Linked DNA regions of Homo sapiens: regions 1, 3 and 4 are each linked to region 2. Evidence: promoter capture Hi-C in 16 types of primary human blood cells and fetal thymus (Javierre and others, 2016). All regions are on one chromosome and are shown on one strand. Each heading gives the region's core, a stretch centred on a gene start or on the middle of the fragment in contact. The rest is flanking DNA. Distances are from core to core; before and after follow the strand shown. Region 1 overlaps LOC105378035 (a long non-coding RNA gene). Region 2 holds the start of SF3B5 (splicing factor 3b subunit 5). Region 3 has its middle 3.1 kb from the start of PHACTR2-AS1. Region 4 overlaps PHACTR2-AS1 (PHACTR2 antisense RNA 1).

Evidence for each region. The method cuts DNA at HindIII sites, captures the fragments that hold promoters and counts their contacts. A CHiCAGO score of 5 or more calls a contact.
Region 1: a fragment that was not itself captured here is called in contact with the fragment with the promoter of SF3B5 in region 2 in 4 of 17 cell types (M0 macrophages, activated CD4 T cells, erythroblasts and 1 more); the score reaches 5.8 in M0 macrophages.
Region 3: a contact is called between a fragment that was not itself captured here and the fragment with the promoter of SF3B5 in region 2, in 7 of 17 cell types (erythroblasts, M0 macrophages, M1 macrophages and 4 more). The highest score is 6.7, in erythroblasts.
Region 4: a contact is called between a fragment that was not itself captured here and the fragment with the promoter of SF3B5 in region 2, in 3 of 17 cell types (erythroblasts, M0 macrophages and M2 macrophages). The highest score is 9.6, in erythroblasts.

What each region holds. Positions count from the first base shown.
Region 1 is chr6:143,520,945-143,523,644 of GRCh38, reverse strand. It overlaps LOC105378035 (a long non-coding RNA gene), which reads right to left. Exons shown (of 4, transcript XR_007059796.1): 3 at 1-2,700. Among named protein-coding and RNA genes, the nearest start is that of FUCA2, 11 kb to the right of the region's middle. The HindIII fragment of the contact is 5,877 bases long and covers 1-2,700 here.
Region 2 is chr6:144,094,243-144,096,942 of GRCh38, reverse strand. SF3B5 (splicing factor 3b subunit 5) reads left to right here and starts at 1,370. Exons shown (of 1, transcript NM_031287.3): 1 at 1,370-2,059. The coding sequence starts at 1,446. The coding sequence ends at 1,706. RefSeq lists an enhancer at 921-1,620. The HindIII fragment of the contact is 24,688 bases long and covers 1-2,700 here.
Region 3 is chr6:143,571,054-143,573,753 of GRCh38, reverse strand. It overlaps a transcript of PHACTR2 not described here. Among named protein-coding and RNA genes, the nearest start is that of PHACTR2-AS1, 3.1 kb to the right of the region's middle. The HindIII fragment of the contact is 7,387 bases long and covers 1-2,700 here.
Region 4 is chr6:143,554,392-143,557,103 of GRCh38, reverse strand. It overlaps PHACTR2-AS1 (PHACTR2 antisense RNA 1), which reads left to right. Exons shown (of 3, transcript NR_027113.2): 3 at 1,874-2,712. It also overlaps a transcript of PHACTR2 not described here. Among named protein-coding and RNA genes, the nearest start is that of PHACTR2-AS1, 14 kb to the left of the region's middle. The HindIII fragment of the contact is 1,933 bases long and covers 449-2,381 here.

The DNA of each region.
Region 1 (2,700 bases), core at 20-2,519, 570 kb after region 2:
ATGCTTACAATATACTGGCCCTCTTCTAATCAATGGCTGTACTGTAGAGAGCAAAGTAGATAAAGTTTTGCTCTCAAGAGACTTAAATTCTATAAGAGGCAGATTGTGCTAAGCAGGAAATGGCCCCTCAAAGACATCCATATCCTGGGCCAGGTGCGGTGGCTCATGCCTGTAATCCCAGCACTTTGGGAGGCCGAGGCGGGTGGATCACAAGGTCAGGAGTTCAAGATCAGCCTGCCAACATGGTGAAACCCTGTCTCTACTAAAAATACAAAAATTAGCTGGGTTTGGTGGCGCATGCCTGTAATCCCAGCTACTTGGGAGACTGAGGCAGGAGAATTGCTTGAACTCGGGAGGTGGAGGTTTCAGTGAGCCGAGATTGTGCCACTGCACTCCAGCCTGGGTGACAGAGCAAGACACCGTCTCAAAAAAAAAAAAAAAAAATACATCCACATCCTAATCCTTGTAATCTATAAATATGTTGTTACATGGCAAGGGGGAATTAAAATTGCAGCTAGAATTAAAGTTGCTAATCAGCTGACCTTAAAATAAGATTATCCTGCTTTATCTAGGCAAGCCCAATATAATCACAAGAGTCCTTGAATGGGGAAGCGGAAGGCAGAAGAGTGAGACCAGAGAGACAGCATCATGAGAAAGACTCAAGCTGCCTTTGCTGGCTTTAAAGATCAAAGGGGTCCACAAAATAAGAAATGAGGGCAGCCTCTAGAAGCTGAAAGAGGTAAGGAAACAGATTGTCCCCTGGAGCTTCCAGAAATAATGCAGCCCTGGCCACAGTGACTTTATCTCAGTGAGGCCCATTTCAGATTTCTGTCCTCAAGAACTGCAAGATAAATCTGTTTTCAGCCACTAAGTTTATGGTAATTTGCTACTGCAGCAATAGGAAACTAACAGAGAGATAGAACCAAATAAAATGAATAAATGAATGAATGAATGAATGACATAATGTCAGGAAACAGTAAGTGCTCAGATGAAAACTAAAGCAGGGCAAAGAGATGTGTAGTGAAGGGAGTGAGTGATGGGTGATATAACAGAAGTGATGTTTTTGAAAGATGAATGTGAGCTCCAGAGAGGTTAGAGGTGGGGAACTTGGAAACAGAGCCAAGCGATGTAGTCACATGACATGACCGAGACCCCCAGAGGCAGGCAGGGCTGGGTAGGCTCTTTCATGGGTCTCCCAATAGCTAAATCGTGGAGCTAAGTTGGTTGCTTTATGTTCCACACACAATACTCATAAGAAAGGCCTGGACACAAAATGTATTGCATAAGAAAAGAGAAATTGACTTAATCTTTTCGGCAAGTCATTTGAGAGTCCATTAACTTCTTCTCTTATGCACTTGGTCTAATCCAATACTGAGTCATTTCTTTGATTCATTCTTTTTTTTATTTACTTCTTGGTTTATTCACTTATTCATTAACTCATTCAATCAATAAGCATTTCCTGAGCACATTACCAAGTCTTGGGAGTACAACGGCGAGAAAAACAAATCTGGGCTCTGCCTTCATGAAGCACACTGTTGATTCTGTTGAAGGTTTCGTGTAAAAATACCAAACGACCACTAAGTTTGACATCCACTAATCAAAACCAGCACTGGCCTAGTCTTCCTTAAAATAGCTCTGGTCCATTCTTCTCTCTCCAACTCCACTGCTACAGCCTTTTCTTACCTGGGAGAAGTCGTCTCTAAAGGGGGTTCCCCCACCTGCATCCAGACCCTCTGCAGCACATCCTCCCTCTGCAACACATCCTCCTGCAACACATCCTCCCTTCCCCACCTGCATCCAGATCCTCTGCAGCACATCCTCCCTAACACAGTCAAAATAATCTTTTTAAGAAACAGATCTGCCCCATCACTCCTCTGACTAAAATCCTTCAATGTCCTCTCATTGTCTACCAAAACTGATCCAAGCCTCCCTATGATGTGGCATATTCCTCAGCCTTCTGGTATCCTATCTGCTTGACTCCACAAGGTGCTTGTGTCTTTCCTGCACTAGTGCCCTTGCCCAAGCTGCCCTCTCTGCTTAAAGTGCTTTGCATTTCTTCCTAGACAGTCTGCTGGACAGTCTGGACAGCAAATGTGTAGAGGTTGAGAGCACAGAGTTCATATTATTTAAATCCTGGTTCTGCCACTCAGTATAGCTGAGTGACTTTGGGCAAGCTAGGCAACCACTCTTTGTCTCAGTCCCTCATCTATAAAATGAGTGTAACAATATGATAATGGAAACGATCACAGGTTGGCGATGAGCTAATATATGTAAGTAAAGCACTTAGAACACTACCTGGCATACATACAGAAGCAGCTAACAGGCATTAGTTATTCTGTATCTTCCCACTGCTCAGCACCTCTACCCTGCACATATTTCGATAATTGTGCTTTTGGTCCGTATTGCATTTATTTATTTTCATGTAGGCTTGGCTCTTCTAGTCTGTCAGCTTTTTAAAGTCAAGGATGTCCTCTGATTCAGCCTTGAATCTTCTGGACTTGGCACATTTGTTAGTATATGTTAGGTGTTCAAAATGAATGAATGAATAAATTCAATAAAATGTGATTTTTAAAAGAGCAAAAGAAATAATTGAAAAAAATCATGTTATTTTGAGCATGTCACAAGCTATTATGAAGTACATAAACCAAATGGAGAAATCTTAGTGTTTTATATGTATCCATACATTTAAGATCACTTTTT
Region 2 (2,700 bases), core at 121-2,620:
GTACAAGGAAATGGGGATGGACACAACAGGTAACATGGAGAAATACAGTTGTCCCTCAGTATTCGTGAGTGATTTGTTCCAGGACCCCCATGGATACCAAAACTAGAGGATGCTCAAGTCCCTGATATAAAACGGCTTGTATTTGCATATACGCACATCCTCCTGTATAGTTTGTCTCTAGATTATTTAACATACCTAATACAATGTAAATGCTATGTAAATAGTTGTTATACTGTATTGTTTAGGGAATAATAACCTTAAAAAGTCTGCATTTCGGTACAGACTGATATTTTCCCCCAATATTTTCAATCAGGTTGGTTGAATCCACAAAACCCACTGAATGGAAGAGCCAAGTAGGGTGAGGTGAGGCCTTGGAGGGAGGATATCAAAATAAGTGGCTAGAGAGGAAGGAGGAGCTTGAGGTGGAAGCCGGAATGTGTGGGAACTGGTGCTGTACTTGCTCACCAAGCACCCTGGTTAGAGCTGAAATAACTCTTTTATGCCACAAACTCCTAAGAGACATAGTTGGGACCAGAACTGGCGCCTGCTGACTTCTGGGTAATCCATCCCCGGTTGTGAAGGGACGGCCGTGCCGCCACGACGGCTCCGAAATACACCAAGAGTTTATTTTCGGGGCTGCTCGTAGTCCAGTCATTCTTGGGTTTCCCATTTCCTATCAGCCCCAAGCCACCCACGGATGCTCCCCACCTCCAGACATCGCCCTCCACTAGGTCCCCAGATCACTTTTAAAACGCGACCAGGGGCCGGGCGCGGTGGCTCACGCCTGTAATCCCAGCACTTTGGGAGTCCGAGGCGGGCGGATCACGAGGTCAGGGGTTCGAGACCAGTGAAACCCCGTCTTTACTAAAAATACAAAAAAACTAGCCGGGCGTGGTGGTGTGCAACTGTCATCCCAGCTACTCGGGAGGCTGAAGCAGGAGAATCGCGTGAACCCAGGAGGCGGAGGTTGCAGTGAGCCGAGATCGCGCCATTGCATTGCAGCCCGGGCAACAGTGCAAGACTCCGTCTTAAACAAACAAACAAACAAACAACAGAACGCGACCAGGAGTCCCGGAAGCCTGCGTGCACGAACTCCCAAGACCACAAGTCCCAGCATGCAACGCTCCTTGTTGGAAAAGGGCCTCCCTTAGCCACTAAGTGGACCATCATGCAACATTCTCTGATGGGGCGGGGATCTCCATGGAGGGGGGAGGCACACTTGTTGCGTCGCCTCAGCAACTCCAATTGCGTGACAGAATGTGCTTCCGCTTCCGCCTCTGAGCCCTATGAGCGAGAGTTACGCTACTTAGTCGTTGTGACGCCATTCTTCTGCGACGGCGCGGACCTGGAGCTTCCGCGCGGTGGCTTCACTCTCCTGTAAAACGCTAGAGCGGCGAGTTGTTACCTGCGTCCTCTGACCTGAGAGCGAAGGGGAAAGCGGCGAGATGACTGACCGCTACACCATCCATAGCCAGCTGGAGCACCTGCAGTCCAAGTACATCGGCACGGGCCACGCCGACACCACCAAGTGGGAGTGGCTGGTGAACCAACACCGCGACTCGTACTGCTCCTACATGGGCCACTTCGACCTTCTCAACTACTTCGCCATTGCGGAGAATGAGAGCAAAGCGCGAGTCCGCTTCAACTTGATGGAAAAGATGCTTCAGCCTTGTGGACCGCCAGCCGACAAGCCCGAGGAGAACTGAGACTCTGCCTTACCACCGCAGTGCGGGGCACCTCTCCCAGCGTTTCTCCGGTTTGCCAATCCTCTTAAGTATTCCTGTCTCCAAAGGACCGGCTCTCCATGGCTCCTGCGCCTCGTGCTTTCCGCGTACAGAAGTGCTTGCCCGGGGAGTCCCGCCTGACCTGCCTTCATGTGGACCCTTAGAACAGCACTGGGAGACCAGCAGGACTCCTGAGAACTGTGCTGGTGGAGAGGTCCTAGAGCCGGCGAGCGTTTGAGAAGAGGGCATGGCGCTGGAGTGAGATGGGATTTGGCGTCTCGTTTTTGGCTAATTGATTGTCATTGGCTTTTTCCATAAAGTTTAGAAATCGTTCAGTCTCTTGGTGTGAACTTTCTGTGTTAGGGTGGAAGGCTCCGGAAAGAGCTGAGCGGGAAGTGGGTTTGGGTGAGGGAGCGCATGCCAGTGTCCATGGCCAGGCACTTAGATCCGCCGTGTCTACCTTTATAATTAATTCCCCGACTGCCACTTTTCCCAAGAGCGTTATTTTCAGGCCCACAATGCCTTCAGTATTGAAATTTGTGGTTATTGTATCCCATCTTCTTTTTCTCCTGTTTTAAAACTCTTTGCAGTCTTTGCTGTCATTGTCCTCCCTAGCCTCTTTAAAATGCATCCTTTTTTTTTTCTTGGGAATTTGTGGCCATGTCTCCAGAAATGACAAGCTGGCAAGCGAGTTCATCCATTCTACATTCAACAAATATTTGTTGAGCTCTATGTGACAGGCATTTTCCCGTGTTCTTGGGGCTTACATTATGCTGGTGGTGGAGAAAGGAGGTCAAACACTAGATGTAATAAGCAAATGTTAGAAGATGCTGCGGGGAGGGGAGAACAATGTATGTGGTGCGGGTGGGAGTAGCTGGTAGGGCTGTAATCTTAAATATGATGCACAAGTTACTGAGATGGTGACATTTGAGCAAAGACTTCAGGAAAATGAGGGAAATGGCCATGCGGAAAACTG
Region 3 (2,700 bases), core at 62-2,561, 520 kb after region 2:
ACAGTTTCAAGGACATCATAATTTAGTTGAAGAAAAACAGCCACATAATTAACTAAGATAAGTGCCAACACAGGGACAAATAACATGATAGAATGCACAGAAAAAGATCTGTTATCAACAGAAACTTTTCCAAGCTACAGAAAACCAAAATCAAAAATACTTAGAAAAAAAAAAAAAGGAGGGAAAGAAAATTCATGGGTTCACAAAACTGGTTTGGAGGTAGGGCTGGCCTCAGGCTTAATTGCATCCATTCTCAAAGCTCAGAAATTCTCTAGGCTCTTCTCTCTTAACCTTCACAGTTGGGCTGGCTCCCATGGATGACAAACATAATAATGTAGCATCCAGGGACCTCCATGGAATAGAGAAGAAACTTCCATAAGACCTAGTGAAAGTCTCCATGCATCTCGATGGCCTGAATTGGATCAAGGACACACCCTTAAACCAAGCACGCAGCCATTGATGACTGGCCAAAGCCAAGTAAAGCCCAGGAACAAAGAATGGGTCAATCTCTCTAAATCACATGGTTGATAATGTGGGTTAGAGGTGGTTTCCCCACAGGAATATAACACTAAGGCATTTTCAACAGATGTTTACCACATGACCCTACTAGTTCTGAGTAGGAAGATCACGAATGTAATATACAATGAAATGCAATATATAAGAAAATTATACATATACCCAGTGAAGGGTCTATGAGAACATTAGGTACTAGTCTTGCCAGTTTTGTAAGGACAGAATTATTTCAAATTAGAAAGTAAAAAACATTTCATTTTTTATTTTGGATTCTTATCTGATGATGACCAAACTTCCACAGATAAAAGACATTATGCTTTTAGAATTTGATGATAATAGATTCATAGCAGTAAGATTTGTGAATTTCAAAAGAAAATAAACCACTGTTGGCTGGGCACGGTGGCTCATGCCTGTAATCCCAGCACTTTGGGAGGCAGAGGCAGGTGGATTGCTTGAGGTCAGGAGTTTGAGACCAGCCTGGCCAACATGGTGAAACCGTGTCTCTACCAAAAATACAAAAATTAGCTGGGTGTGGTGGCATGTGCCTGTAATCCCAGCTACTTAGGAGGCTGAGGCATGAGGATTGCTTGAGCCCGGGAGGTGGAGGTTGCAATGAGCCTAGATCGTGCCACTGCACTCCAACCTGGGGCAATGGAGAGATTCTCCATTTCAAAAACAACAACAACCACAATGACCAAAACAAAACAAAAAAACAAACAAACAAAAAAACCACTGTTAGTGTTTGAGTATGAATCAATCTATAATAAACACATAGTCACAAACACTCACACACATTCTATTTTGAAAAAATATATAGTTGGGATATATTTGATGGAGGCATTAGACTCTAGTTTTGGTCAAGAAACTTTCAGGTTCACTTCAGTGTTGAGGCTGTATATATTGATCAGATTGACTGGAAAATTGTCATGAGATCCAGAGAAACAGAGATGCTGTTATCAAAAATTCAGCAAAGAGGGAAGGTGTCAGGACAAAATATGATGAGGGGAGAATTCAAGCCAGTGAGGAGCTAAACTGCAGAAGATATTTACACGGGGCCAAAAGAATTTCTTAGCAAAAAACAAAGTCTACAACAACAAAAAGTCTAAAAGATATTGGACCTGTAGTTACCTACTAAAAAGAAATATAGAAGCAAGAAAGAGTAAAACAGATTTTTTGGTGAAAATCCTAGTTGTGTGGCTTCCCATTTTTTAGCATATGTATCAAAATAGGCTATGCTCCTCATAATCTGACATGTTTTTGGGACCAGTGTTTCATAAGAAATCAGTTCTGTAGATGGTAGAAGAATATCTAATATCTCCTACATAGAGATCTCCCATATGGTAAATATTAATTTTCCAAGAACATGAACAGAACGTTATAAATCTAACATTAAAATAATACTGAAAGCAGGGCTCATAGGAGAAAAGACTGATTCTAAAGCAGGGACAGAGAAAACACAAGATGAGTCTGGAACGTCTTGTGGTCCCAGAAAGTAAGGAAATGATTTTTTTAATGATGGGAGCATGGCAAATGGACACAGGAGTAAACTTGTACCAAACTCTCGATAGCCAATTGTACAACAATGTGGGCAACAAAATGAGTGATGATTGACCGGCCTGGGAAACATAGCAAGACCTCATCTCTATAAAAAAATTTTAAAAAAAATTAACCAGGTGTGGCAGTGCACACCTGTAGTCCCAGCTGCTCAGGAGGCTGAGGTGGGAGGATTGTTTGAGCTCAGTCAAGACTTTGAGGCCACAGTGAGCTATGATTGCACCACTGCACCAGCCTGGGTGACAGAGCTGGAGGGTCTCTAAAAAAAGAAATAAAGTAGATAGTAATGGATTATAGGATAAAGGAAATATCCATGAGACCACACTAATACAAATAAATAACTGAATGAATAAATAGCTCAGAAGAGGTAGCTCTTCATTGTAGTAGAATTCCAATTGATAAATGCAGAAGGATGATAACTAGAAAGTCACCATCTGACAAACACCGCAATGATAATTGTTACTAACAATGATAATTGTTAGTGGGATAATTGGCTAAATTTGAATGACAGCTGCAGATTAGTTAGAAGTACTGTACTGTACTGCTCTTTACCTACATTCCCTTCTTGATTTCCATCGTTGTACTACAGTTTTGTAAGATATTACCATTTGGGGAGTCCAGGTGAAGAGTATA
Region 4 (2,712 bases), core at 166-2,665, 540 kb after region 2:
GTCAAACCAAGTGAATCCTCTTGCCGAACCACATGGAGAACATATTTTGGAGAGAGATGGTAGGCGAGCTCCTGTGGCCCTCTCTAACTGAGGCTGGGGTTAGGGAGGGAGGCCCTTTCTTTCTGGCCTCATTTTTGTTTCAAAAGGAAATGTGGTCTCTCTGAGGGAGGAGGACAGACAGGCAGCATATCTTCTCACGTCTTTGTGCATCATTTTTATTAGTTCCTGGCCCATATTTTTAAAAAAGAATACTTACTCTTAAATGACACACTTTAAAAGCATGCTTTTCTAAATGGCAGCAATTGGACCCCATGGTGTGGCCAGTGCGTTGAGTCTGAAAATTCCATGGTGATGCGTCGCTGTGGTCCTGTGGTGATGTACGTCTTCCTTCTCCTCTAGTTAGCACCCTGTGAGCTGAGAGGTTCAAATCTGATAGCAGCTGAAAGCTTCAAACCTAGAGTCCTCCAAGCTGGGAAGCTGAATTGCTGCTCTAGGGCTGCGTTTAGATTGATTTTTTGAATGCTGTCACTGCAGAGGAGCTAGTCAACTTTTCTCAAAATATTTTTTCTCATCTTTTTCACTTTCCTCTCTCTAGTTTGACATACGGAGTTATGAATGTACTTTCTGGTTTTGTTATATGCCTCAATTTTTATTTTTGATGATTCTATCAAGCTGGCTGCCTTCAATGTTTTCTCCATTTAGTAAAATGCACTACTTCCTGTATTCCTCACCTCCCTCCACCAGATATTCACTCTCCTGGCCCACGCCTTGTGCCTGGCACGCAGGAGCATTGGAGATGCCCCACACCTAAAGTCCATACCTTAATGTCCTGAAATAAATAAATGAATTTAAGGAAGAAAGTCTGAAATGAACTGGGGCCGAATTATACAGTAGCTGGTATCACAAAATTCTAATCAAAGCTAGGGACTTTAGTAATGATCCCTGCCTGAAGTCCTAAAAGCATGCTCCTTTGTTAATTTCTTAACCATCATGAGTTTTCACTGTCCCTTCTGCTACTACCTTCAATGTAACACTACAAATAGATTAATTACTAAGAGTAAAAGGTTTGGTCTCTTTTCTTTTTGTTTTTTTTCTGTTTCTTTTTAAAAAAATTAATTGTGAAATAGCAAATTTAAAAGGATCATTTTTTTGAACAACAGTCTTTAAAAAAAAAAAAAAAGCTAAATGTCATAGTGCCCTAAATTCTTTTGTGTCGGTGGTGATTATATTGTATGTCAAGAAACCATCCTGAGGTGATAATTAGATTTTATCTGCAAATGGAGGTGGGAGGATGAGAGTAGGTGGTAGCGTCAACATTTCACCAAAACAATAAGACAATTCACACGATGAGGTAGGAAAAATATTACTCAAACAGCTGGCTGGGGCTACTGTGTGATTAAGGGAATTTTGACACCATAATCATCTAGGGTGGGGGTATATTTTATTTGCCTATGGCCAGACATTTAGGAAGGCAAACTGGAGCAAGAGGAAAAGCAGGAAAAAATAGACTGATAACCAAAATGTAAAATATTTCTGTGTTGATCATCAGGGAAGTGAATAACACAGGCCACAAAGACCCCTTTTTTTCCCACAGAACTTTTCAACAGATGGTTATACTAGTTGTTTCAGAATTAATACCAAGGATTGAGGGTTGGAGGCATGCAACTTAGAAGCAGTGCTGGTGTGAAAGTGATAAGGTTTTTGGCTCCAAGTAACACCTCCCAATTTGTACAGCAACCACAATAGAAATGTGCTTCAGGCAAGGTGGCGTCCTACATTTTAACTTACCCCCAAGAAAATATCCTGAATTTCACAGGTGTTCTCAGTAATATGACCTGACTGAAAATAGCTTCTCTTCTGTATTTTTCCCCAGGTTAAAATTAAGCTCGGCAGGCTCGACGTAAATGTGCAGACAAAGCAAAGCAGGAAGCCTCCCACACTAAAAAGGGAAGATAAGAATCACAGAAGCTGGGATGGTTTTTATTGAAGGGCATTTCAAAGCAAATACAGACATCTACAGCATATTTGTAAATCCTCCGTATGTGTATGGAAACACACACCTTCACACATCAAAACTGGATTTGTTCCTGAGTAACAAAACGTCCTAAGAACAAAATGAAAGAAAACCAAATAGCAGAAAAATACTTCCAATGTATATACCACAAAGGATTATTTATCAACTCAACACACCAAGAGTTAAGAAAATAATGCAACAGGAACAAAGGGCAAAGGATATGTACTGGGAAGACCACAGAGAAAGAAAATGCAAATGGCTAATAATATAAAATATTTCCTAGGTTCAATAGTAATCAGGGAAAGACAAAATTACACTTTTGACCTCTTAGACTGGCAGTGACAAAGATTATTTGAGTGACCAAGCTTTAGTCAGGCTCCTGGATCTTCTAGGCCCATCTGGGCACTTCCTCGTAAAATACAGTTTTAACAAAAGCCCTGCTAAATTGGTTTACCGAGAACTCCCACCCTCAATCGAGTTCCTTAGCCCTTCACCTTTCCTCAGGTGAGGGCTGATCATCCTGTCCTGTCTTCAGCAAGACTGCTCTAACGCTGACGTTTCCTTTTAGTAATTTTCCATCCACTGACACCCACTTGTAATTTATAGCCAAGGAGCAAGATACACTGCTCCTTGGCTATAAGTTATTTTCCCTGTTACATTCAGAGTTGAGCCCAATCCCACTCCCCGACTACAAAATC